Regions from separate parts of the Homo sapiens genome. Here all the other regions are linked to region 1. The links are contacts of gene promoters, found by promoter capture Hi-C in blood cells and fetal thymus (Javierre and others, 2016). All regions are on one chromosome and are shown on one strand. Each heading gives the region's core, a stretch centred on a gene start or on the middle of the fragment in contact. The rest is flanking DNA. Distances are from core to core; before and after follow the strand shown. Region 1 holds the start of HADH (hydroxyacyl-CoA dehydrogenase). Region 2 has its middle 39 kb from the start of OSTC. Region 3 has its middle 23 kb from the start of OSTC. Region 4 overlaps RPL34-DT (RPL34 divergent transcript). Region 5 overlaps RPL34-DT (RPL34 divergent transcript). Region 6 has its middle 89 kb from the start of RPL34-DT. Region 7 has its middle 110 kb from the start of RPL34-DT.

What was found. Contacts are between HindIII fragments. The CHiCAGO score rates a contact against its expected background, and 5 or more counts as called.
Region 2: a fragment that was not itself captured here is called in contact with the fragment with the promoter of HADH in region 1 in 1 of 17 cell types (naive CD8 T cells); the score reaches 5.6 in naive CD8 T cells.
Region 3: a contact is called between a fragment that was not itself captured here and the fragment with the promoter of HADH in region 1, in 2 of 17 cell types (naive CD8 T cells and activated CD4 T cells). The highest score is 7.3, in naive CD8 T cells.
Region 4: a contact is called between a fragment that was not itself captured here and the fragment with the promoter of HADH in region 1, in 13 of 17 cell types (non-activated CD4 T cells, naive CD8 T cells, total CD4 T cells and 10 more). The highest score is 21.3, in non-activated CD4 T cells.
Region 5: a fragment that was not itself captured here is called in contact with the fragment with the promoter of HADH in region 1 in 9 of 17 cell types (non-activated CD4 T cells, total CD8 T cells, activated CD4 T cells and 6 more); the score reaches 9.8 in non-activated CD4 T cells.
Region 6: a contact is called between a fragment that was not itself captured here and the fragment with the promoter of HADH in region 1, in 10 of 17 cell types (non-activated CD4 T cells, naive CD8 T cells, activated CD4 T cells and 7 more). The highest score is 17.0, in non-activated CD4 T cells.
Region 7: a fragment that was not itself captured here is called in contact with the fragment with the promoter of HADH in region 1 in 5 of 17 cell types (non-activated CD4 T cells, activated CD4 T cells, naive CD8 T cells and 2 more); the score reaches 13.4 in non-activated CD4 T cells.

What each region holds. Positions count from the first base shown.
Region 1 is chr4:107,988,325-107,991,764 of GRCh38, reverse strand. HADH (hydroxyacyl-CoA dehydrogenase) reads right to left here and starts at 1,876. Exons shown (of 8, transcript NM_005327.7): 1 at 1,701-1,876. The coding sequence starts at 1,832. RefSeq lists a silencer at 1,880-2,109. The HindIII fragment of the contact is 11,946 bases long and covers 1-3,440 here.
Region 2 is chr4:108,688,357-108,691,796 of GRCh38, reverse strand. No RefSeq gene overlaps it. Among named protein-coding and RNA genes, the nearest start is that of OSTC, 39 kb to the right of the region's middle. The HindIII fragment of the contact is 2,179 bases long and covers 543-2,721 here.
Region 3 is chr4:108,671,836-108,675,275 of GRCh38, reverse strand. No RefSeq gene overlaps it. Among named protein-coding and RNA genes, the nearest start is that of OSTC, 23 kb to the right of the region's middle. The HindIII fragment of the contact is 2,752 bases long and covers 328-3,079 here.
Region 4 is chr4:108,592,930-108,596,369 of GRCh38, reverse strand. The region is part of intron 1 of RPL34-DT (RPL34 divergent transcript); the gene reads left to right. Among named protein-coding and RNA genes, the nearest start is that of RPL34-DT, 26 kb to the left of the region's middle. The HindIII fragment of the contact is 7,816 bases long and covers 1-3,440 here.
Region 5 is chr4:108,559,347-108,562,786 of GRCh38, reverse strand. All of the region lies in intron 1 of RPL34-DT (RPL34 divergent transcript), which reads left to right. It overlaps LOC101929621 (a long non-coding RNA gene), which reads right to left. Exons shown (of 2, transcript NR_134679.1): 2 at 2,395-2,894. Among named protein-coding and RNA genes, the nearest start is that of RPL34-DT, 59 kb to the left of the region's middle. The HindIII fragment of the contact is 3,526 bases long and covers 68-3,440 here.
Region 6 is chr4:108,529,413-108,532,852 of GRCh38, reverse strand. No RefSeq gene overlaps it. Among named protein-coding and RNA genes, the nearest start is that of RPL34-DT, 89 kb to the left of the region's middle. The HindIII fragment of the contact is 3,371 bases long and covers 1-3,289 here.
Region 7 is chr4:108,510,161-108,513,600 of GRCh38, reverse strand. No RefSeq gene overlaps it. Among named protein-coding and RNA genes, the nearest start is that of RPL34-DT, 110 kb to the left of the region's middle. The HindIII fragment of the contact is 1,795 bases long and covers 1,022-2,816 here.

The sequences.
Region 1 (3,440 bases), core at 627-3,126:
CTCTCACAGCCTTGGGAGATTTGGGTGGAGCCTGGGAATACAAACGTACTCAAACTAAACTTTCTCTTGAGTATAACCTGTGGAACTTTTAGGTTAAAGGGAGTTACTCCTCCCAGTCCACATACAACATAGATTATGGGGATACTATAACCTAGCAGCCAGGGGATCCACACAATAAAAAGGGCAATGTATGTCCAAAATTATGGTCTCAGAGGAAATGGGAGACTGTAAGAAGTCATATAAATAAAACATTACAGGGATATAGCTTTTAGAAGAAAATGCAATCAAATAAAAACGTTGTAAAAAACTTGCCAAGGAGAAGAAAATTGAGATATATAATACCTAATAGTAAAAGGTTTTTTTGTTTTTGTTTTTAAAAAGCAAGCATGAAAGCGTGGACTTGGTTGGAAACAAGACATTGAAAAAGTAAACTCTCTCATGACTGTAGCCACAGTAGTACTGTCCCCAAGAAAAATTAGATGACTATAACCGCCTTCCCCAACAAACCAAGTTGCAAAGGACTGAAATGCTAAGAATATAATCAGCTAGGATACGAAAACCATGGTTCTCCAATGTGAGCTGAAATGGAATAATTTTTAAAAAAAAAAAGTACAAGCATTACAGTAGCCAGGTAATCAATCACTCGCACAACTGAGCCTGAACCACAGCTCAGCAGAACAATGGAAAAGCCCTGAAGATGTACAATGGATAAAAGACTTGTTCCGGCTGGGTGCAGTGGCTAACGCCTGTAATCCCAGCACTTCGGGAGGCCAGGCGGGCGGATCACCTTTGGTCAGGAGTTCGAGATCAGCCTGACCCACAAGGTGAAACCCTGTCTCTACTAAAAATATAAAATTAGCCGGGCGGGGCGCCTGTAATCCCAGCTACTCGGGAGGCTGAGGCAGGAGAATCGCTTGAACCCGGGAGGCGGAGGTTGCAGTGAACCGAGATCGCGCCATTGCACTCCACTCCAGCCTGGGTCAAAGAGACTCCGACTCAAAAAAAAAAAAAAAAAAAAAAAGAGAGAGACTTATTCCGCTGCAGCGCCAAAATCGCAAGCTCAGAACTCTGCACAGACGGCACTATTTCAAAGGTCAAAACCAGGACCTCAGCAATCTTCCATTAGGTGACTTTACAAAGTGCTACAAAAGTCATGACTACTACTATTCTTTACAACCTAGCAAGCGAAGGAAAGACCGGGGAGAGCCGGGAGGCCGTTTAGGAGAGAAAACTACTTTGACAAAGACTGCACAATTACAGAATAAAAATCAAAAATAACTGATAGAATTAAAACTGATCGCAGTTCATGTCTTTGGCAGCAAACTCCCGTTTGAGCCGAGCAGGAACAAACGCGTTATGCCTGAACCTTGTGCACATACAATTCTTTCTTCTCTTGCACGGCCCGCTTCCAAAATGCATTCACCGCCACTCTCCATGGAACCTTCAGCGGGCCCTGGGGGCAGCCAGAATTTTCCAAACGAGGAAGCTGAGGATCGGCCCAGAACCCTGAATTTTGAGGGGAGTGAGACTTGGGCCCTCACAGGCCCAGACGCGAGATATTTCAACTACACCCGGGAGGCGCGGGGTGAAAACTCCCTGGTGTCGGGCGGGTGCAGGCCCCTCGCGGCCGGTCGCGCCAGAGCTTCCACCTCAGGGTGGGCGGCCAAGCGCGTGGGCACGCTGCAGGGAGGGCCGCTCACCTGGGCAATGCCGGCGCCCATCAGCCCGCCGCCGATGACCGTCACGTGCTTGACGATTATCTTCTTGGCCGAGGCCGAGGCGGTGGACGAGGAGGACACGGAACGCATGAACTGCCTGGTGACGAAGGCCATGGTGTGGCAGCGGCGGCGACAGCGAGGAGACCCGGGCAGGGAAGACGCGCGAGGCGGGCAGCCGCGGAAAGCCAGACTCTGGGGGCGGGGACCTACGCGGCCCTGCAGCCCGCGCGCCCCCGGCGTCCCCGTGACGCCACAAGGCGGGGGCGGGGCCTCGAGTCCCGCTCTGCCCATTGGCCCTGGCTGTAACGTCCCAGCGTTGAGCGGGTATACACGCGCGGGCTCGCAGCTGTCAGCAGCCGGAGCCCGAGTGAGCGCGGGCTTGAGACCTGCTGAGCAGCGGGACCTGGCGGCTGGCGTTCTGGTGTGGGGCCGAGAACAGACCCTTCTTCTGAAAAGCCACTGGCCCCTTGTTCTATGAAGTGAGTGGTGTTGACTCTGTAAAATGCTATCCTTTGATGACATGTGCATATCTAGGCTCTGAAGAAATATGTGCTGCTTGGCTGTGTTGGTAATGGACCCAAAATGTGCACCGTTGGTTGATGTCACCAAATAATCAACTCGGGATTATTTTAATCCCGTGGACAGTGATTGTTTCCCCTAAAAGGGAAATAAATGTAGACTGCGAACACCCAAAACAAATGTCTAGTGACCATGAGTTACAATGCAAAAATCAGGCTCAGGGAAGGTAAAGAGAGAGTTGACCTTTAGTTACCCATCTTGACGTTGGACGTCTATCAGTGCAGTGAACATGTGGACGGTTTAAGGTCATAGAGCAACCTTTCTGGAATAACGAATACTATTAGAAAGCATAGGAAAGAAATGTCTTGTCAAATAATGGAAGACTGGATAGCAGCTTGGCCAATCTTCTCACTCAGGTGAATACTTTCTAATTACTGTAACTTAGTGATATAGGATTCTTATTAATTTATTTGCTTTATGTTTAAATATTGTTAACAAAAAAACTTCAAACAAGTTTAGCAGAGTTTATCTGAGCAAAGAAAGCATGAATCATGTAGTATCCTGAGCCAGTAAAGGTTCAGAGAGCTCCAGCCCCTAACAGTGGGCAAGCCGCGTTTATAGACAATATTTTTTGCAGCCTGTAATGGGCTAAAAGCTCCGCTGCGGTGATTGGCCAAGACTTGGCCACTTGTTAGAAGAACGTACTCTCAAATTACATTGCAGTTTATTTACATATTAGGTTTGATTATGCTTTGCTAGGTAGGGAGGCAACTTTAGGCCAGATTTAATTTAATAACAGTTTCCTCCTTTGGGTCAGCCTCTCAGTTTTACGAGATTGACCAGAACCTTGTTTTGTCTCAGTATGGAAGTCACAATGTCAAATTAGTTGAGTGATTATACTTTCTTCATGTTGTTATTCTAACTGTAATAACACCATTTGGTGTACAAAGGATGGCTGCATAGAGACATTGAAGACTCTCGAGGGGACAACAACACATCAGGGAGACTATTATGGCCACGAGAAGGAGTATAGCAATAAACTGAGGTACACACCTTAACAGGAGTCTCCACAAACTGAACTGATCAAAATTAAACAATTCAAAGTTCAGGCAATAAAGATAGTTCAAAGTATTTGAGTCCAATTGGTCATGGTCTAATTTAGGGCATTATGGCGGTTAAGGACTGCTAGAAATGCTTATTTCT
Region 2 (3,440 bases), core at 383-2,882, 700 kb before region 1:
TTTTATACACACATCTAGATGTGTGTATATATATATTTTATATACACATATATATGTGTATATATTTTATATATATACACATATATATGTGTGTGTGTATATACATACATATATACATATATACACACACATATGTGTATATGTATATATATACATATGTATATACACACACACACACACATATATATATATATATATATAATCTTGAATGTAATCTCCAAGAGTTTAAGAACCTATGGTTGCTCACTGTTATATTGCCAGGGCCTGCAAGTATACTTGACAATTAGCAGCATCCTTTAAATGTTTGTTGAATAAATAAATTTAACCCACCAATGACCTATGATCCAGGTATTATGATTACCCCTTATTTCAGGAAAGGAAATTTAGCACTGACTAGTCAAGCAAATAGCCCAATTCACATAGCAAATAGGTGATGGAGGGCAAATTAAAACCCAGATTGACCCTGGAATCCCCATGCTTCACCGTTGTCCTCCATGGCCTCTTGGCATATGGGACTGCCCAGGTGCACTGAGAAGAAAGCTTTTCTTTCACTCTGCTTATTCGAATCAGAAGCAGACCTAGTTCAAAAAAACAGAAACAATTGTTATTTTATGAACTAATGCTATTTATGATCACCAGCAGCACAATTTTTACCCGCCCCCCCGACTACAAAAGGAAGCAGCATGGCAATCACTATATCCAAAAACATACCTGGTAAGGGGCCATTGTCAGTTCCAGAGAACCAAACCACCTGGAACCTCAGCAAAAGTGATGAAATACCAGCATCTCAGAAAGTTAAAGTGGATGATCCTTCACAGGGGTTGCCCAATGGTGCTGTAATCTGAACTATTGCACAAATAAAGGCCTTTTGACAGCTGGTTTGTGTTTTTCCAAAAGATGAACCATCAGTTCTTCACAAACAATAAAGAACATGTCCCACATTGATGTGTCCTGAGAGAGGAGTGTCAGGGTCACTTCATTTACAGCCTGTTGAAACTGTCACATCAAGATTGTCACAGAGGAAAAATTTTCAGCTATGTCTAAGGCAACAAAAAACCTTCAAAAACAGAAGTGGCTGGCTAAAGTTGGGTAGTAATACTTTTTTCTCACAAGTAAACATGTCAAGAGAAGAATAATAATGTAATTTAAATGGGATCAGAATTATAGTATTTGAGCTAGACTTAAATGACTTCCCTTTCATATCAATTTATCAAACGTGACTGGTATTTATGGAATACTGTAATTTTGGCCTAATAGCTATATTCTAAGAAATATAATTATTCAAAAATATATATTTCTTTACAGATAAATACATATCTTATCATCTGGGATTTACTTCAAATCAACCTGGGTTGGGAGCGGAGGAATGAGGGTATACATTGATTAAACAAGACTGGCCATACGTTGATAACAGGAGAAGTTAGGCAATGGGTAAGGAGAGGTTTATTAGTACTATTAACTTTGCTTTTACTTATGTTTAAAATGTCCACAATAAAAGTAAAAAGATAAGCAAATAATACAAACAACCTTTAAACAAGACTTACTTAACCCCTACAATGTGCACACTCTGCTCTGTACAATGGGTTGTGCAAAACCAGGTTCTGTCCTCAAGGAGCTTAACAGCCTCATAAAGGAAAGACAGCAAGCACGAACTCACTCAACAAACTGAAATCCAAAGTAAGTGTCAGTACCGAGAGAGAGAGAGAGAGAGAGAGAGAGAGAGAGAGAGAGAGAGAGAGAGAATGCAAGGGGCTCAAGTTCCAGTTGCCCGGTTAGGCTGTGCTAATTGAAACAGCTCTTTCATTAAGAGCTGCAATGCTATTCCTACCTAACTTGCAGTGGCCATGATACTAGTCATATAGAATAAACATCTGACATCTTGCATGTTGTGGGATATGGAGGAAAAGTAGAGAAATTAATTTTCTTCTTGACCAGGATATAGCTACACTCAAGTATAATATTTTAAATAAGATACAAATACTTGGCTAGGAAAAAAGCTGGGGGTTGTAATGACGGACATAGTAAGTGTTGTAGGGATAGTCTCAGATAGAGATTTTATAAGAATTACATAAACTACCTGAGACTAAAAAAGAGTTTAAAATGTTGGGACAAAGTTCGGTTATTTGCAGAAACTCAACAACTTTTATAAGGCTTCAAACAGATGTACTGTGATGCTTCATAACTATATATTACTGACTGTTACTAAAGGCTAATGCCATTACCTGGATTTTTAAAACAGTTTGCATGGCAATGAATATAGCAAGAAAATAAAAAATAAACATATAGGTAGGTACAGCCATTTGATATAAATCTGAACTCATTTCAGTAAATGAAATGGCAAAAGACATGGCACTATCTAAGAAGCTGAACTAATTCATTTCACATATCAAAAAATAATACTAAACGATAAAGTATATAATGAAACTGTGTGCACAATGTCAGTAAAGTAATACATAGCATTAAAAGTGATCCACTTAATTATGCCAACCTTGAAATGCTTTACCAACTAAGTATACGTTGAGAAAGGCAATCCACCATGGGCCCTGAGCATCCTCACAACTTCTTGCTGGGTATGTAAAGCATGCAAGGCCGTGACTGATCTTTACCCAGACCATTGCTCAGGATCATGCTTGCAGCAAGCAACCTTGAGGAATAAGATAATGTCTCCCTCCAGACAGACAGCAGGTTTGCTTACTATAAAAGCAGCATATTCCCTAAGCTTAGTGCTCCCTGGCTGCCACACGAACCAGCTATGTGTAAACATCAACATAGGCCTTTCTGCATTGCCCCTGTGGGACTTGAAGTGTGTTGGAAAACCAAAGCCAACATAAAACTCATTTTACTTGCTCCATTGTGAGTAATAAAGTCCTTTCTCTCTGATCCAGAAGTCTCATGTCTTCTGCCAGTATCCATGAAATAGTAATAGGCTAGCTTACTAGCTTGCAAACGGAATAAAATTCCAGATCCTGACACTGCATTAGCTTTGGAAAAACATAACCAGATTATAAAATACACCAAAGCACGAACTGTAACACAAGTCAGCAGCTCTAGCAATTTACTAAATGTTCATTGGCTCAAGTGGCATAGATGGCAGACAAATTAGTTGAGAATTTATTTTACTTGTAACATCTCACATGATCTAAACATTTTAGATGAAGAAGTCGTTTCCTAACAAGGTGTGGGCTATGTGACTGGTTTTTATGTAGCTTGAATGTATGTACAGTCCTGACCTCTATTGTCAATTATTTGTTAAGTATTCATTAATCAACTATATGTCAAATGTGGCAGCTCATGTCTGAAAATGACTCAAACCTGATTACTTCTTACATTGATTAGTGAATTAGCCAAAGATGCCCCAAAGATGGCTGAACAGAGACAGCTAACGTGAAGTTTTGGAGTTTTACTGACAGATCGTCAGGCGGGCCTCAGGGGCTCCAACT
Region 3 (3,440 bases), core at 454-2,953, 680 kb before region 1:
ACTAAATTTATAGAGTACTATACTTTCTGAATAGAGCCCAGAGTTTTGCTCTTTGATAAGCTGTGTCAAGACAAGACCGTTTTTTATCTCCCCAGAATTCCCTTGGCTATTTTCAAGTCCCACAGACTGGTAGACTATGTGAATTAAAAAGAATTTTTGTCATCTAGAAAGCCAGCTGAGGGGAACTGATCAGCCCAGTAATGTTTTCAGTGCCTCCTCACAGATAGAACCCAACCTCTCTCGGTTAAAAGGCAGCTGGGCCTGTGTCCATTCAGGAGAGGATCCTAGTACTATACTTGTAACCTTTAGTCAAGTTAATGAAAAGCTTGGCATATGGGGGGATAATCTTTGGCGTATGTTTATAATATCCCCTGTATTTTAAAATTTTAAATAATTTTATTAAGATATATCTTGGAGTCCATCGTTTTCGGTCAGTTTTTCCGGTTACTACATGATCTTTCAAAATAGTTTCAAATCTCTTATTTCAGGAAAAATAATTTGTAAGTATAATTTAAGTATTATAATCCTTCCTTCCTTCCTTCCTTCTTTCCCTCCCTCCCTCCCTTCCCTCCCCTCCTTCCCTCCCTCCCTCCCTTTCCTTCCTTCCTTCCTTCCTTCCTTCCTTCCTTCCTTCCTTCCTTCCTTCTTCTATCTTTTTCTTTGCATTTTTAGCTACTGGAAGGGGCTGGGGCCCTGGTGATGCCCTGAGGCATCCTGTTCAATTGATCTTAATGAGCAGCTTCCCATTCTCTTCATCCATGGGTTTCTGATGGTATCCATTTTTTACATCCAATTTTTAATACTATTGATTTCCTTCATAAACTACCAAGGTAGCCTACATTTTTTTTAAAAAAAAAAAAGTAAAATAAAATGAAAATATCCATCACCCAAAAAAGTTTCCTTATGACCTTTTGTCACTCCTCCCTCTCATACCTCCCACTCTTCTCCCCAGACCTCACCCCCACAACCATATACAACTAGATAGAAGTCATTCGTCAGATATATATTTTGCAAGTATCTTCCAACAGCCTGAGGCTTGCCTTTTAATTTTCTTAACAGTATCTTTTGAAAAGAAAAAGTTTTTAATTTTAATCCAGTCTAGTTGATTGATGTTCTTTTCATTTATAGCTTATGCTTTTGTGTATCATATTTAAAAATCTTTGCCAAGCCCAAGGTCACTACATTTTTCATCCATGTTTTCTTCTAGAAGTATTATGATTCAGGCTCTTATATTAAAGTCTGTGATCCATGTCATTCATGAAGTTTTGTAAATGGTGAGGTAAGCGTTGAAGTTTTTTTTTTTTTTTTTTTTTTTTTTGCATATGGTTATCCAATTGCCCCAGCACCATTTGTTAAAAAGGCTATTCTTGCCGGGAGCGGTGACTCACACCTGTAATCCCAGCAATTTGGGAGGCCAAGGTGGGCAGGTCACCTGAGGTCAGGAGTTCGAAAACAGCCTGGCCAACATGGCAAAACCCCATCTCTACTAAAAATTAGCTGGGCATGGTAGCAGGCACCTGTAATCCCAGCTACTCAGGAGGCTGAGGCAGGAGAATCACTTGAACCCAGGAGGTAGAGGTTGCAGTGAGCTGAGATCATGCCACTGCACTCCAGCCTGGGCAACAGAGAGAGACTCTGTCTCAAAAAAAAAAAAAAAAAAAGCTATTTGTTCCTCATTGAATTGCCTTGGAACTTTTACCAAGTCAATGGGTCATATATGTGTGCATCAATTTTTGGACTCTTCTCTGTTTTACTGACCTATTTGTCTATCCTCAGGTAGATTAACTTTTTTCAATCATTTCAAATGTATTACAGCTGCTTTAAGGCCAATCTTACGGACTATCATGGTAAACATATGATGTGCACACCCATTGTTGGGTGTAGAGTTTTGAAAAGGTAAGTTGAATCAAGGTGGTCGATAGTGTGATTCAGGTCTTCTAGGTTCCTGTTAATGACTTGTCTTGTTGTTCTATCAATTTCTAAATAGAAAATGTAAAAATATTCAACTCTGAAACTGCTTCACTCTCCAATTTTGTCAATTTTTGCTTTGTATATGGTGAAGGTCTGTTATTAGCTGCATACAAATCTATTATTGTAATGTCTTACTGCTAAATTCACTCTTTTGACATTATGAAATTGAAATATACATTTTATCTCTGGGGATACTTTTTGTTTTGAAATCTATTTTAGTAGACATTAGTATAGTCAGTCCAAACTTCTAGTGCTACGGTTTGCATAGTGTATCTCTTTTCCCATTTATTTTGAGCTGTGTCTTTATATGAAAAGTAAGTCTCTCATAAACAGCATACAATTATGTATATGTGTGTTTATCCATCCTGACAATCTTAACCTTTCAGTTAAAGTGTTTAATCCCCTAACATTTAATATAATTACGGATATGGTTGTTTGAGCCCACCATTTTATTGTTTTCTATTTGTCTCCTCTGTTTTTTGTTTTTATTCCTCCTTTCCTGCCTCTTCTCAATTTTGTATTATGTGAGGCTGGGCACAGTGTAATTCCATCACTTTGGGAGGCCAAGGCAGGCAGATCACTCGAGGTCAGGAGTTCAAGACCAGCCTGGCCAACACGGCAAAACCTAGTCTCTACTAAAAATGCAAAAATTAGCTGGGTATGGCAGTGTGCACCTCTAATCCCAGTTACTCAGGAGGTTGAGGCATGAGAATCATCTGAACCCAGGAGACAAAGATTGCAGTGAGCCGAGATCATGCCAGTGTACTCCAGCCTAGATGACAGAGACTCTGTCTCAAATATATATATATATTTATATATAATAATAACATATATTATGTACTATAATACAACCTTGCAACTGTAGGCCCAAATCCCATTTCTAATCATTATGCTATCATGTTTATATGTATTACATCTATGTACATTATAAACCCAACAAGATACAGTTGTTATTCTTACTATAAAGTTGTATGTATTAAAAAGAAATCAGGAAAAAAATTAAAAAGCCTTTTGCATTGACCCATATATCTACCATTTCTGACACCCTCCATTGTTTTATAAGGATCTAAATCTCCATTTGCATTATTTCCTTTCAATCTGAAAAGCTTCTTTTAGTGCAGGTCTTTGGACAACGAATTTTTTGTTTTCTTTCATTTGAAAATTGTATTTCATCTTCAGTCTTAAAGAAAATTTTCATTGGTTATAGAATTCTGGGTTAAGCGACTTCCCCACCCTCACCTCTACCCCAAGCCTAAAACACTTACTATCTGGCCCTACTTAGGGCCTGGTCTAAAGCAGTGGTTCTTAAAATGTGGTCATTGGATCAGCAGCATCCAGTACCACCTGGGAACCTGTCAGAAATTCAAACTCTCAGACCTCATACAGACCTACTGAATCAGAAAGTTACTTCACACTTCACAATTCAAATAAACATTAACAAATACAGTATAATCTTTCTAAGCAAAATA
Region 4 (3,440 bases), core at 405-2,904, 600 kb before region 1:
CCCATAAGCCTAATCTTGTGGTTTTACAAAGGCGGTTTTCAGTCCCTGAGCAAGGAAAGGCTTAGTTTTTATTTATCTATTTAGAGACGGAGTTTCGCTCTTGTTGCCCAGGCTAGAGTGCAATGGCGACATCTCGGCTCACTGCAACCTCTGCCTCCTTGTTCAAGCAATTCTCTTGCCTCAGCCTCACGAGTAGCTAGGATTACAGGCATCCACCGTTACCCCTGGCTATTTTTTTGTATTTTTAGTAGAGATGGGGTTTCACCATGTTGGTCAGGCTAGTCTCGAACTCTTCACCTCAGGTGATCCACCCACCTCGACTTCCCCAAATGTTGGGATTACAGGCATGAGCCACCACACCCGGCTGGAAGGGCTTAGTTTTAGGGAGGGACTATTATCATCCTTGTTTTAAAGTTAAAATACAAACTAAATTTCTCCCAAAGTTAGCTTGGACTACACCCGGGAATGACCAAGGACAGTTTGAAGGTTAGAAGCAAAATGGAGTCAACTGAGGTGGATTTCTATTACTGTTATAATTTAGCAAAGACATTTTCAGGGTCTTGCTCTATTGCCCAGGCTGAAATACAATGGCATGATGATAGCTCACTGCACCCTTAAACTCTTGGGCTCAAGTGATCTTCCCATATTTGTGTTTCAAAGTGCTGGGATTACAGGTGTGAGCCACTGTGCCTGGACTCTGAAAAATTTTGAAGGTCGGCTGGGCATGGTGGCTGACACCTGTAATCCCAGCATTTTGGGAGGCCAAGGCTGGTGGATCACGAGGTCAGGAGATCAAGACCATCCTGGCCAACATGGTGAAACCCTGTCTCTACTAAAAATACAAAAATTAGCTGGGCGTGGAGATGGGCATCTGTAATCCCAGCTACTCGAGAGGCTGAGGCAGGAGAAACGCTTGAACCTGGGAGGTGGAGATTGCATTGAGCCAAGATCACGCCATTGCACTCCAGCCTGGGCAACAGAGTGAGACTCCATCTCAAAAAAAAAAATTTTTTTTGAAGGTCTTTCTCTTGTCTTATTGTAGCTGAGAAGTGTGAAGGCATTCTGATTCCTAGTCCTTTCTAAGTAGTCTATTTTTCTCTCTGCAAGTTTATAGGATCTCTGTCCCCAGTGTTCTGAAACTTCACAGTGATGTTGCTCAATGTAGCTCTACTAGAATCTATTTTGCAGGAGCACTTGGTGGGCCCTTTTCATCTAGCAATTCATGTCTTCAGTTGTGAAAAATTTTTGTTAAATTATTTTACTAATGATTTTTCTGCTTCATTTTCTCCTTGCTCTCTTCCTGGAACCCTTATTACTCATATGTGAGACCTTCAGGTGTGCTCCCTTTATTTTTCTTATATCTTCTCTTCTATTTTCCGTCTGTCTTTTTGCTGTTTTCTTAACACTTTCTTGAACTTTATCTTCAACTCTTCTGTTGAATTTTTCATTTCAGCTATTAGCTGCTCTTTTAATTCTCTGAATTTTCTTTTGACATAGCATCATTTTCTATTTTCACAAAGGAAATATTTTCTCTCAGAATTTTTTTTTTTTTTTTTAGACAGAGTCTCGCTCCATCACCCAGGCTGGAGTGCAGTGTCAAGATCTCGGCTCACTGCAACCTCTGCCACCTGGATTCAAGCGATTCTCCTGCCTCAGCCTCCCGAGTAGCTGGGACTACAGGCATATGCCACCACGACCCGGTAATTTTTTCTATTTTTAGTAGAGATGGGGTTTCACTATGTTGGCCAGGCTGATCTTGAGCTCCGGACCTCAGGTGATCTGTGATTGGACTCCAGTGAAGACTCCAAGATGGCGATCGCCACCTCGGATACCCTGATTCAGCATTTCCGGGTTCACCTTTCCTGTTCCCGCCACCCTGACTAACGCGCATGCCCACTAGGGCGTGTCACACTCAGAAGCGCGAAACTCAACCGACCCCGCCCCTACCCCGCCCACTCTTCACCCAGCATCCATAAAAGCGCGCTGCACCTTTGGCACAGTGCGACTTCCCTGGCCCTCCCCCTGCGGACCAGTGAACCTCGCCTGAGAGCTCAAGAAAGAAGATTTTTGCCCTCTTAGTCTCGCCTCTCCGCCTTATTGTTCCACGGTGCCCTTCCATTGCCTTTCAATCTGCCCACCTTGGCCTCCCAAAGCGCTAGAATTACAGGCGGGAGCCACTGCACCCAGTCTCTCTGAGGTTATTAAGAATAGCTTTGTTTGGGCTGGGTGCAGTGGCTCACACCTGTAATCCCAGCACTTTGGGAGGCTGAGGCAGGTGGATCACCTGAAGTCAGGAGTTCAAGATCAGCCTGGCCAACATGGTGAAACCCTGTCTCTACCAAAAATACAAAATTAGCTGGGTATGGTGGCGCATGCCTGTAATCCCAGCTACTTGGGAGGTTAAGGCAGGAAAATTGCTTGAACCCGGGAGGCGGAAGTTGTGGTGAGCCGAGATTGTGCCATTGCACTCCAGCCTGGGCAACAAGAGTGAAACTCCGTCTCGAAAAAAAAAAAGAATAGCTTTGTTTGGCCAGGCACGGTGGCCCACTTTGGGAGCCGAGGTGCGTGGATTGCTTGAGCTCAGGAGTTCGACAGCAGCCTCGGCAACATGATGAGACCCTGTCTCCTCTAAAAATACAAAAGTTGGAGGTCGGGGGAAAGGGGACAGAGAGCATTAAGACAAATACCTAATGCATGCAGGGCTTAAAACCTAGATTACAGGTTGATAGGTGCAGGAAACCACCATGGCACATGTATACCTATGTAACAAGCCTGCACATTCAGCACATGTATCCCAGAACTTAAAGTAAAATTAAAAAAAAAAAAAAATACAAAAATTAGCTGGTGGCCGGGCACAGTGGCTCACGCCTGTAATCCCAGCACTTTGGGAGGCCGAGGTGGGCAGATCACTTGACGTCAGGAGTTCAAGACCAACTTGGCCAACATGGTGAAACCCCGTCTCTACTAAAAAAATATAAAAATTAGCTGGATGTGGTTGCATGCGCCTGTAATCCCACTTACTTGAGAGGGTGAGGCAGGAGAATTGCTTGAGCCTGGGAGGCGGAGGTTGCAGTGAGCTGCGGTCACGCCACTACACTCCAGCCTGGGCGGCAGAGCTAGACTCTACCTCAAATAAATAAATATATAAATTAATTAAATTAAATAAAAAAAAATTAGCTGGTCATATTGGTGCATGCCTGTGGTCCTGGCTAATCAGGAGGATTAGTTGGGAGAATTGCTTGAGCCCAGGAGATCGAAGCTACAGTGAGCCAAGATAGAGCCACTAAACTCCAGCCTGGGCAACAGAATGAGACCCTGTCTCAAAAAAAAAAAAAAAAAAAAAAAGAATAGCTTTGTTGGAGTTTCCCCCCGCCCCACCCCCCACCGTATAGTCTCTATTTCCTTCAAGTTGCTTTCTTTTGTTTATTGGTTTGGTCTTT
Region 5 (3,440 bases), core at 581-3,080, 570 kb before region 1:
TCCTGCCTCCCCCCACCCCACAACAGGCCCTGGTGTGTGATGTTCCCCTTCCTGTGTCCACAAAGCTTAATTTTTCTACCTCAGTGTGAGCATATGAAGGATAAAAGAACACTAAGGATGCTTGCTTTGAGGTTACTTAGGGTCAGTTAGATATTGTGCTTTTCTGTTTCTAAGTCTATATCCTCATCTATCCCAAAGTGATTGAGATTCATATAACAATTCTGTTGGTGTGGATTGGGATAATTCACTTCTACCTCATTGCTTCAATGTTGTGCCATTATGGGCTCCTGAGTGTACATGACTTTGTCAATGTCTGGATGAGTCTACTTGTTTTATACCTTTTATAGTGCCAGCTACACATTGGGGCATCCAGGAAGCAGTCAGTAAATTCTGAATGAGCAAATGATGAATGAATACTTTTAGAACAGTATTTCTTCAGTTTTTGAAACTTATGCTTTTTTTTTTTGTTTTGTTTTTTTTGAGAGAGAGTCTTGCTCTGAGGCCCAGGGTGGAATGCAGTGGCATGATCTTGGCTCACTGCAACCTCTGCTTCCCAGGTTCAAGCAATTCTCCTGCCTCAGCCTCCCCAGTAGCTGGGATTACAGGCATGCACCACCATGCCCACCTAACTTTTGTATTTTTAGTAGAAATGGGATTTCAGGCCGGGTGAGGTGGCTCACGCCTTTAATCCTAGCACTTTGGGAGGCCAAGGTGGGCAGATTGGCTGAGCTCAGGAGTTCAAGACCAGCCTGGACAACATGGGAAAACTTTGTCTCTACCAAAAATGCAAAAATTAGCCTATTGTGGTGGCACACACCTGTAATTCCAGCTACTGGGGAGGCTGAGGCAGGAGGATCGCTTGAACTCAGGAGGCAGAGGTCACGGTGAGCCGAGATCATGCCACTGCACTCCAGCCGGGGCAACAGAGCAAGACTCTGTCTCCAAAACAATAAATAAATAAAATAAAAGGAAAAAAGAAACAGGGTTTCACCATGTTGGCCAGGCTGGTCTCAAACTCCTGACCTCAAGTGATCCACCTGCCTCAGCCTCCCAAAATGCTGGGATTCCAGGCATGAGCCAACACGCCTGGCTGAAAATTATGCTATCTTTTGATCAACAGCTCCCACACCCCAAATGTGATACTCTTCTACAGGGTCGCCTTCCAGTGATGATGAATTGTATTCTCCACCAGTTAAAACTTTCTAGTCTCTCCCACCCTAATTACACACTAAAAAAATACTACTGGACATGCTCTCTCCCACCCAAGGTTCTGCTATTTACCCCATTTCCAAGAGTATCTGCACCATTTTAGATCAGAGGCCCCAGAAAGGCAGGGACATTCCTATTTAAACATCTGCCATGCATAGACATATTAGGTACCAAATAAGTGCTTTTGATAATGACACAAATTGACAGCTTTGGGAAAGCTGTAGTGCCCTACCATCACCGATTACATTCAGTCATTCAAAACTGGATTTAAATCCAGACCTCCCACGTAGAGTCCCCATAGCCTAGTCTGAGATGGAATGCATGGCATTCTTCAACCTCTCTTCCTTAAATATCTGTCCAGATTATGCCCTTTCATGTGTTTTTGAAGTAAAAAAGAAAATCGTATCCTCTCCTAAAACTTTTCCTGACTCAGGCATTTAATATTATTCATGAAGACTAATGGCTGCAGTTTAATTATTTTAATGTTTCCAGCTCAAACTATAGAAGTCTAGGAACCAAATGTTTGGCCCATCGTAGCTAAAAGCCTGCCTATACTTTTCATGTGCACGACTGTAAAATGAAAAACAAGGAAAGTGGCTTGTAATTGTATAGCAACCAAACACATGGTTTTTCCCTTTCCTTTGGGATGAAAATGCCTTCCTGTAGAAACTAAGGTTATGCCCCTACTTCTGAAGCCCAAGGAGGGACACTTTGATGTGAAAGAGGATCCTGGCCAAGTAACGGATGCAGAAGCCAGTGTGGGAATAGGAGGAGCCTCCAGAAACAGGAAAAGGCATTGTCCCAGGGAGGGGTTATTTCATCCCACTCTGTCGTCATTCGGGCTGTCTGGTTTATTTCCTCCCCCAGATTGGTGTGAGTTGGAAGGACAGTCCTTTGTTAATGAGGTCAAGAACAAGACTGACCATTTTGTGAGGTGGTTAGGGCTGAACTTTCAGATTTCAGATTTTATAAGAAGTGACCGAGAAAAAAATTAATCTGGGCTTCATCTAAGCAACACCAAGGCAACTGGTTAGGAAGTGAGAAGTCCAGTCAATTGGTGTGGCTAAGCAACATCAAACACCTTGGTTTTTCTAAGGAAATATTTCAACATGCCAACAATTTAGGCTTTATGCAGATATAAGACTGAAATCCTGCCTGCAGCCAGGTTCCCTCAATAAAACTTGCTAAAATAAAAAAGATTTTATTTTAAGAGTTTCATATCACAAATGAATAGCTGCTGGTCAAAGCACTGATAAACACAAAGCAATGTATAGAGCTGGGAAAATCCCTGGGCTTGTTTTCTGGGACAGCATTAGCAATGCCCCCACGTGGGTTCCATCTTTCTTGGGGGCTTTCTCAGCACACACTTGTGTGTGCCCTGCAGCTCCTTGTGGGAATACTGATGCACGGGTCCTTGCAGAATCTTCAGCCAAACCTCTGTCAGCTGGGAGCAGCAGTATGGGAAAGAGTGGCCAAAGCTGGTTCCATCTGGCACAGGCCCGAGGCCTCTGGCCACATTATTTTCATTGTACTTAGCACTGAATGCTTCATAGTGCTTGAGAAGGCTTTGTCTTTATTAGTTTTCACAACAGTCCATGTTGTAGGATATCATTAATATTAGATTTCCCATTTTAGAGTTCAAGAAGCTGCTGATCAGAAGGCTTAAGGGACTTGTCCATCATCACCTGGAAAATGAGTATTTGACCCAGGATTAGATTGCATAAATACGGGTCTCCAATGGCTCTAATACTGCAGAGTCCACATAGAGTCTCTAATGGCTCTAACGGCTGCATAGTCCACATAGAGCATTGGGTCTCTAATGGGTGCATAGTCCACATAGAGCATTGCCATTTTCTCTGAGAACCTAAGGGAATACTTTTCTCATCTCGTAGGAACCCCTCTCTTCCCAGGGCCCAGGGAAGCCCCTCCCAGTCTTATCTCAGGACATGAACTGGGTCTGAACTGCTGGAGGCACTCTCTTAACCGAGGTTGGGCTCAGCTCAGCTCTCATTCTATGTCACACAAAAAGACCCACGAGGGTTTGAGATGAGCTGGGTTTTTTTTTTTTTCCTAATCTGCAATACTAGTACATAAAAACATAACCTTAGGGAGCATAAACTGAATAAGCCAAAGCTAATCTTTTAAAGCAATTCAATTTGATATGGCAAAATATGAGTCATCTTCCATGTGCAAGACCCAAGGATGAATGAAAACAGTCCTGACACTCCAGG
Region 6 (3,440 bases), core at 355-2,854, 540 kb before region 1:
GCACCCTGATGATATTTGTTTTCTCCGAATATCAGAACCTTTTAAATAACAAGCACATTATTCTTTTAAAGGCTCTGAAAACATGAATGAATAAATACAACAACACCGTTGTATCTCTTCCCTTGAGAACACCCTTTTCTCTAGAACTATACACCATTGCTAGAGTTTCTGAATGTAAATTTAGAAAATGACCATTTTTCTTTTTTTCTGCCCAAACTGGACTCGAATTCCTGAACCCAAGCAATCATCCCACCCCAGCCTCCTGACAGCTGGGATTACAGGAGACTGCCACTGCACCTGGCTGGCAATTGTTTTTTCATCTCTCACGAGTGAGAAAACATAGCCAAAACACATAGTAGTGATGAAGTCCTATAGCCTTGAATAGAGGCAATAAAAATAAGGCCAGTTATGGTTTCTGAGCTGAGCTGGAGTCTCTCAAAGCTGAGCAGTGTGTGCTGGGCAGGGCGGAGGAAGAGCGGGGCGGTAGCTGTACCTGTGATGGAAAGGCTCCACAGTGGTGTTTGACAGTTCACGTCATTGATGAATAGTTCTCAGGTGCATAAGCCTAGAGCTATAACAAAAAGGACCTTAGATTTCATATAATCCAATTCCTTCATTGTGCAGAATGACTTGCAAGGGTTAGTGGCAGAGTCAAGCCTAGATTCTGGGGTTCTTGTCTTCCAGGTTGGTATTTTCCATTGCTTTGAGTTGGGCATTTTACCAGACAGGTTAAAATACACAGTCTCTGTCTTCTAGTAGCTTACAATTTAAAATGTCTGTTTCCCAGAAGAAAAAGGAGTAGTTTAGGGAATGAATGAACACTATGAGGACCAAAAAAGATACTTGGTTCCAAGCTCGCGTCGCTGGGTGACCATAACAAAACCACTGATCTTGTCTGTGCTTGCGAAGGAAGCTGAGGGAAAGCGGGGACTGGGGAGCAGCTTCATTCACCTTTTTAACAGTTAGTGGTTCTGCACTAAACCAGAGAAGGCTCTTTACTGTGCCATGAGGGATGTAAGAGTGGACAAATGTGAGGTTAAATTTCTCATTTGAAAGTGTGATAATGGAATAATAATATTAACTGTTTCTCTAACAAAGGTCAATGTACATTCTCACAGTGACACAAAATACCCTGGCTCTGTACTTCTTCCTTTACAAACAGGCCCATGTCAGCTTCCTGGCTGACTTCTGGTAAATCATCCTAAAACGATTCCTGGCATTCACCTCATAGAGGGTTAAAACTTCCTCTGCACAAACCAAGGGCTACACACAGAGAAGAGAGGCTACAAAGGAGGATATTGTTGCTTATTTTATACCAACTGCGAGAAGAGAATGCTGAAAGGAGAAAATGCTGTGGTATAATTTTGAAAATCCAGATTCATAAGAAAAATTTTATGGAGGTTATTTTATTTTATTTTTTAACTCAATTTTTTTCTCTCTGTGTTCCACCCAGACTAAACCAACCTTAAAAATGTCCTTATTTGGGTGAGAAAGACTCTTAATGCTATAGAATTCTGTGTGGAAACCCAGAAACAGAAGGTTGACCGAGGCAGCACAGATAGGGGTTAGTGATACTGATCCCTTGTCTTCTCACCCTTGACCCTAGAAGGGCTTAGTGGCAAAAGGAGAATTTCCTGCAGGGCTGCGTTCAACCTTCCTGTTAGCAGAACTGGAGGAAGAATACAATGTACTAAAAAGCAGCCCCTCCCTCATTCCTCTGCCTCATCTACTTCTTTGAGATAAATGAAAGAAGGAAAATAGCCATATCCACCAACAACCCTGAGGATCCCTGACAAATGGCCCTAAGGTATATCACACCACATCCTTGGAAACCAGGAAGAAACCAGGGAACAGGATTGGGTTTAGCTCGTATAATTGAGTTTAGCTTGTATAATTGAGTTTAGCTGTAATTACTGTGTGGAAAACTGCAGTATTTTCCCTACCATAGATTGGATCTTCACCCCTCATGAATACTGTGCTGGTCAGTACTACATCTTGCAATCTTTTGCTGGTGTAATTTTCAAAGGTGGAATATATGCAATGAGGAATTAATGTCTGTTGAAAATACATGAGCTGCTGGAAACTTGTTCGCGGTTACATTAGAATATGCAGACAAGCTGATATAGTGCATGTTGGAACAGTCCAGAATGAGACAATATTAAAAATATTTATTTTGGGACCCGAGGTAGGTGTTGAAATGGATATGAAGGGCATGTAGCCTCACCCAACTGTCTTTTTATGCATTGCCGTGCCATTTAAAGGGCCAAGCACCTTTTGAGAATTGATGCACTTTATTTACTAAAAGTAAAAATATCTTTGGTCTCACTTTTCTTTTCTTTTGGGGGTAAAAACTAATTTGTTAGTTGTCAAGATAGCCAGGCTGAAGAAAAAATGGCTTTTCCCCTCGTTTTTAACCTGCTTTGATGACACAGTAACCAAATAACCAAGTGGTTCATATACACTCAAAATATTGAATCACAGTCTCTAGGGGCAGGGCTGGATCATCAGAACTTTTCTAAAGTTCCCCACATCACTCTATTGTGCCATCAGGATTGAGAAACCACTTGTCTGAAGTCTCACCAGTTTGAACTGACATTAGTAAGGAGAAAACTTAGTCCAAAAGAGAAGGCTAGCAAAAGGAAACATGTAAATCGGCTACGAAATGTGAATGTGTTGCTTCAGGAATTGCTTCATTGAATTAAGGGCATGAAAAGAACTTTGAGAGTTCAATTATTTCATTCATGTGCATCCAAATAGAAACATACTCCGGAATTGATGTTCTGTTTTTAACAGCTTTCAGTGCTACTTATCCAAGCATCTTTTGTAATCCATTCCCAAATATTGCAATGCATGGAAAAGCAAGCAAGCAAGTAGGCCAATAGTACAAAACATTATAGAAAGAACTTATTTTTACACATAATAAAAATGGAAGTAAAATTAGTTATTTTAGGATTAGTTAAATTAGGACAAGTTAAATTAGGATTGAGACTATGCATCATGGGTAAATTTTCATATATGCTTATTACAATAACACTGATTTTGCAAGACCAATTTATGACTAATCTTAGAGTTTCCTACCAGAATATTTCTTCTTAATTCCAGAGAGGATGTTTTTAGCTATTTCTCTGATCTCTTATAAAGGTACTGGCCTGGCTAGATTTATAAGTAATTTTCAGGTCATAATAGCAATAACCTATAACTTACTGATATTTGAAAGCTGTAATTATTGGAGGAGAAAATTACAGGTGAATCTTTCATCTTCATTGAGATACAAGGGGATAGGAAAGCTTTATAAAAGAAAAGGCCAAAAAAAAAGTCATATAAATGTTAAGGTTGAAAATATAAGATCTGTTTTCTTAATTAAAGGAATTTGGCCACATATAATAGTAAGAAGGTTTTTTGTTGTTATTTTGATTTTCAGAGCTAAATAGGCAACCAGC
Region 7 (3,440 bases), core at 670-3,169, 520 kb before region 1:
TACAATTATTTTCATCCCCCCCCCACTCATCAAGGACAAATTAATGAGTCAAATATCTCAGGTTAGAGACAATGTAAGATTGAATAACAAGATGAAATATTTGTTGTTTATAATTCAAAATGTGGATATATGTAACCCACACACGATAAACAGTGAGTAATTATGTACCACCTGTGAGGATGGATGTAAAACTTTCCTCCCTGTATTTAGGGCCACATGAGTTCTTGTTTCTGAAGTCGCATTGTAATCCCCCAGTAGATGGTGCTGAACAAGCAGGGAGGACTGGACCGGGAGCCTTTCCGATCCCCCGCCCCGATCCTGACTCTCACCTCTCCGCTCTGCTCGGTGCTTGATGTTCTGAGAGCGATTGTTCAGGAACGTCTAACGATAACAAAACCTCTTTCAAACATTACACAAACACAAGCCGAGGTGGGTCAACATCATTAGCGGACTTCTCCTTTGTCTGTTATTAAAAGGAGTGAAGCCCAGTAGCCTAAGATACAAGCTGGTGAGTTTCCAGTTATCCTTTCAGTAACAAGGCACCTTTTGAAAAACATGGATTATCTGTTTGAGGTGGAAGAGAGTAAAGGGGGAGGCACAGGATAGAAGAACATTTAAAAAGTGTGTGTGAGTGGGGGTGGAGGGGAGAAATATGAATTATCCTTTGACAACACGATTCAAGACTCAGACACAAGCCCCCTGGAGTCAGATGTTCTTGTGTTTGAACCTGCATATTTATAGAGTCAAAAAGAAAGGAGACGTTATTTATGCAAAGCTGAAATATCATACACTTAAATGGATAGCTCCTTGTGACAATAAGTGACTCATATGTCAAGACAAGTAATCAATTTTTCATTCTGATTAAGACCTTTCAACTTAACGCAGGGAGAATGCTCCTGGCTGCCTTAAATACATCCTGTTAAAACAGAAGTCTGCACTTAATCGCTCCTTTTTAGAACATGAGTCTGATTTCAGGCCAGGCAAAAACATGGGGGAAAACACTTTAGGAATAAAGTAAGCTTTGTTTCCCCTTTTGCACTGGAAAAAAAACCATAAAGCATTTGAGTAATGTTAATACTTAGGTGTTCATTTTAGAGAAACTTGGGGGATCTAGTGAGCTGAAACTAACTCTTTACCTTATAAATCTTAAAGAACTTTAAGTTGAAGGAATTTAACTTAAAATAATGCTATCAAAAAAGGAAGTTAAGCATTATTACTTTTCTGTTAGTATTATTGCCAAACCAACTAGAGCAGAATTTCTTGACCAAGACTATGAATCTACAATAGTTCTTTCTGTAATCGACCAAGACTGGCATAACGCTTCCTTCATTGCTTCCTCCAGGGAGAAAAACCTGTGTAGAAGTGTGCATTGTACTAGTTCCTCCAGAGGACTGCCAACGTGCCAGGAAACGTAGGGGATGTGGACAGTGGGACTATGTTTGGGGAGGCAAAGTGGAAATTGGGATGTATATAATATCAGAAGTAGGGATAAAATTGCAATCATAGGCAGTTGCAGCTATGGGTCTACAGACATATGCAGGAAGTGAGAAACGGCTGAGGAAGAGGGAATTTGCAGCCAGGAACAATAGAAATGGGCATGGATGTGCTTGTGTGTTTCTCAGCAGCCCTGTTTTGAAGGGGAGCTTTGTTTCAGGATGGAGGCTGAGAAGAGTGAAAACAGACTGGGGAGGAGGGTAGAGACATGCCAAAATTCACGCCCCTAGCAAAGTTCAAAGGACCCAGAAAGTTATTCTAGTGCCTTTTCACCAAGTGCCATGCTGTGTTGCCACCAGCAAGGCATCAAAGCTGCAGCCAGTGTGCAGATCCCAGGCGGCTGGGCTATGTGATTGCTGACTGCCAGCACTGAGGCACCTCTCTGGGTGCCCACCTAGTGGGAAGATCCTCACAACCACATGGTTGTCTGTGGCCACTGGGCTGTCACCTGGAAAAGGAAAACCATGCAGCACCCTCATAAATGGCTCTGAGCTGCTGGGGCAGTTCACCATCGGCAGATGACCTTGGTGAGGAAATGATGAGGAGTGGCGAGACCCAGTGTCACAGCATGTTAGGTATTTATCGCTGCATAAAAATTACCTAAAACTTAGCAACCTAAAACAATAAACCTGTATTATCTCATCAGTCTCTGTAGGTAAAAAATCTGAGATTGACTTAGTCGGGTGGTTTTGGCTCAGGATTTCTCATGAAGTTGCAGATATTGGTCAGGGCTGCAGGCATGTGAAGGTCTGACTGAGGTTGGATGATCCTTTTCCAAGGTGTTTCACTTACATGCCCACCTGATTCCTTCTGGCTGTTGGCAGGAGGCTTCAATTCCTTACCCAGTGGGCCTTTCCACTGGGCTGCTTGAGTGCCTTCACGACATGGCAGATGGCTTCTCCCAGGACAAGTAATTAAAGAGAGAGTGCAAGAAGGAAGCCACATGCTTTTTATAACTTAGTCTTGGAAGTCATATACCATCACTTCTGCCACATTCTGTTAGTTAGAAGCCAGTCATTAAGCCCTTTCCACACAGAAGAGGAGGGGAATTAAATTCCACTTTTCGAAGGAAGAATTATCAAACAATCTTTGAATGCATTTAAATATCACTACAAACAGAGAGGATGGCCATTAGAGGATGGCCAAATGGATATATTCCAGATGGCTAGGGCAGATATGTGTCTTCCACAGACCCTGGAACAGTTGTATATTGTCTCAGTTGGGAGATTAAAAAAGAAATGTCAGCACAAGAGTCTCAGTCCAGACTAATATGATAAGAATCTTTCTGAGGATGGAGCCTGGGAATCTGTATCTTTAAAGCTTCCTGTACAATTTTGCATACAGGGAAGTTTGAGAGCCCCTGATCTAGAACAGCGCTGTCCAGTGGAAATAGAGTATAAGCTGAATATGTGATTTAAAATTTTCTACTAGACACATTAAAAGAGTAAAGAGAAACAGGTGAAGCTAATTGTAACAATATACTTCCGTTAATACTGCCAAAATAGTATCATTTTGACAGGTAATCAATGTAAAAATGATTAGTGAGATATTTACCTTATTTTTTGACACTAAGTGTTGGAAATCCAGTGTGTATTTTACACTTACAGTACATTTTGACTTGGTCTAGCCACACGGATCTAGTAGCTATTGGATTTATTGATTACTGCTGGTCTAGAATAGAGGGCCATAATCATGGGAAGTTTGACTATTTTATTCACTGCTTTGTGTAGATCCTGGGACATGGTATGTGTTCAAGAAGTATTTGTTGAATAGATTAATAATGTGCTGATATGAACTTAAAGGTCAGTTATAAAGTATATATCCTTTCATATAGAGTAGATTTTCTCAGATTCCCATAATTTTCTGGACTTTTCCAAAAAAGATTGAGCTATGATACACAATGCTAAAACTCTTCATAAGAAAACTTTCTGGTGCTGAAGTGGATT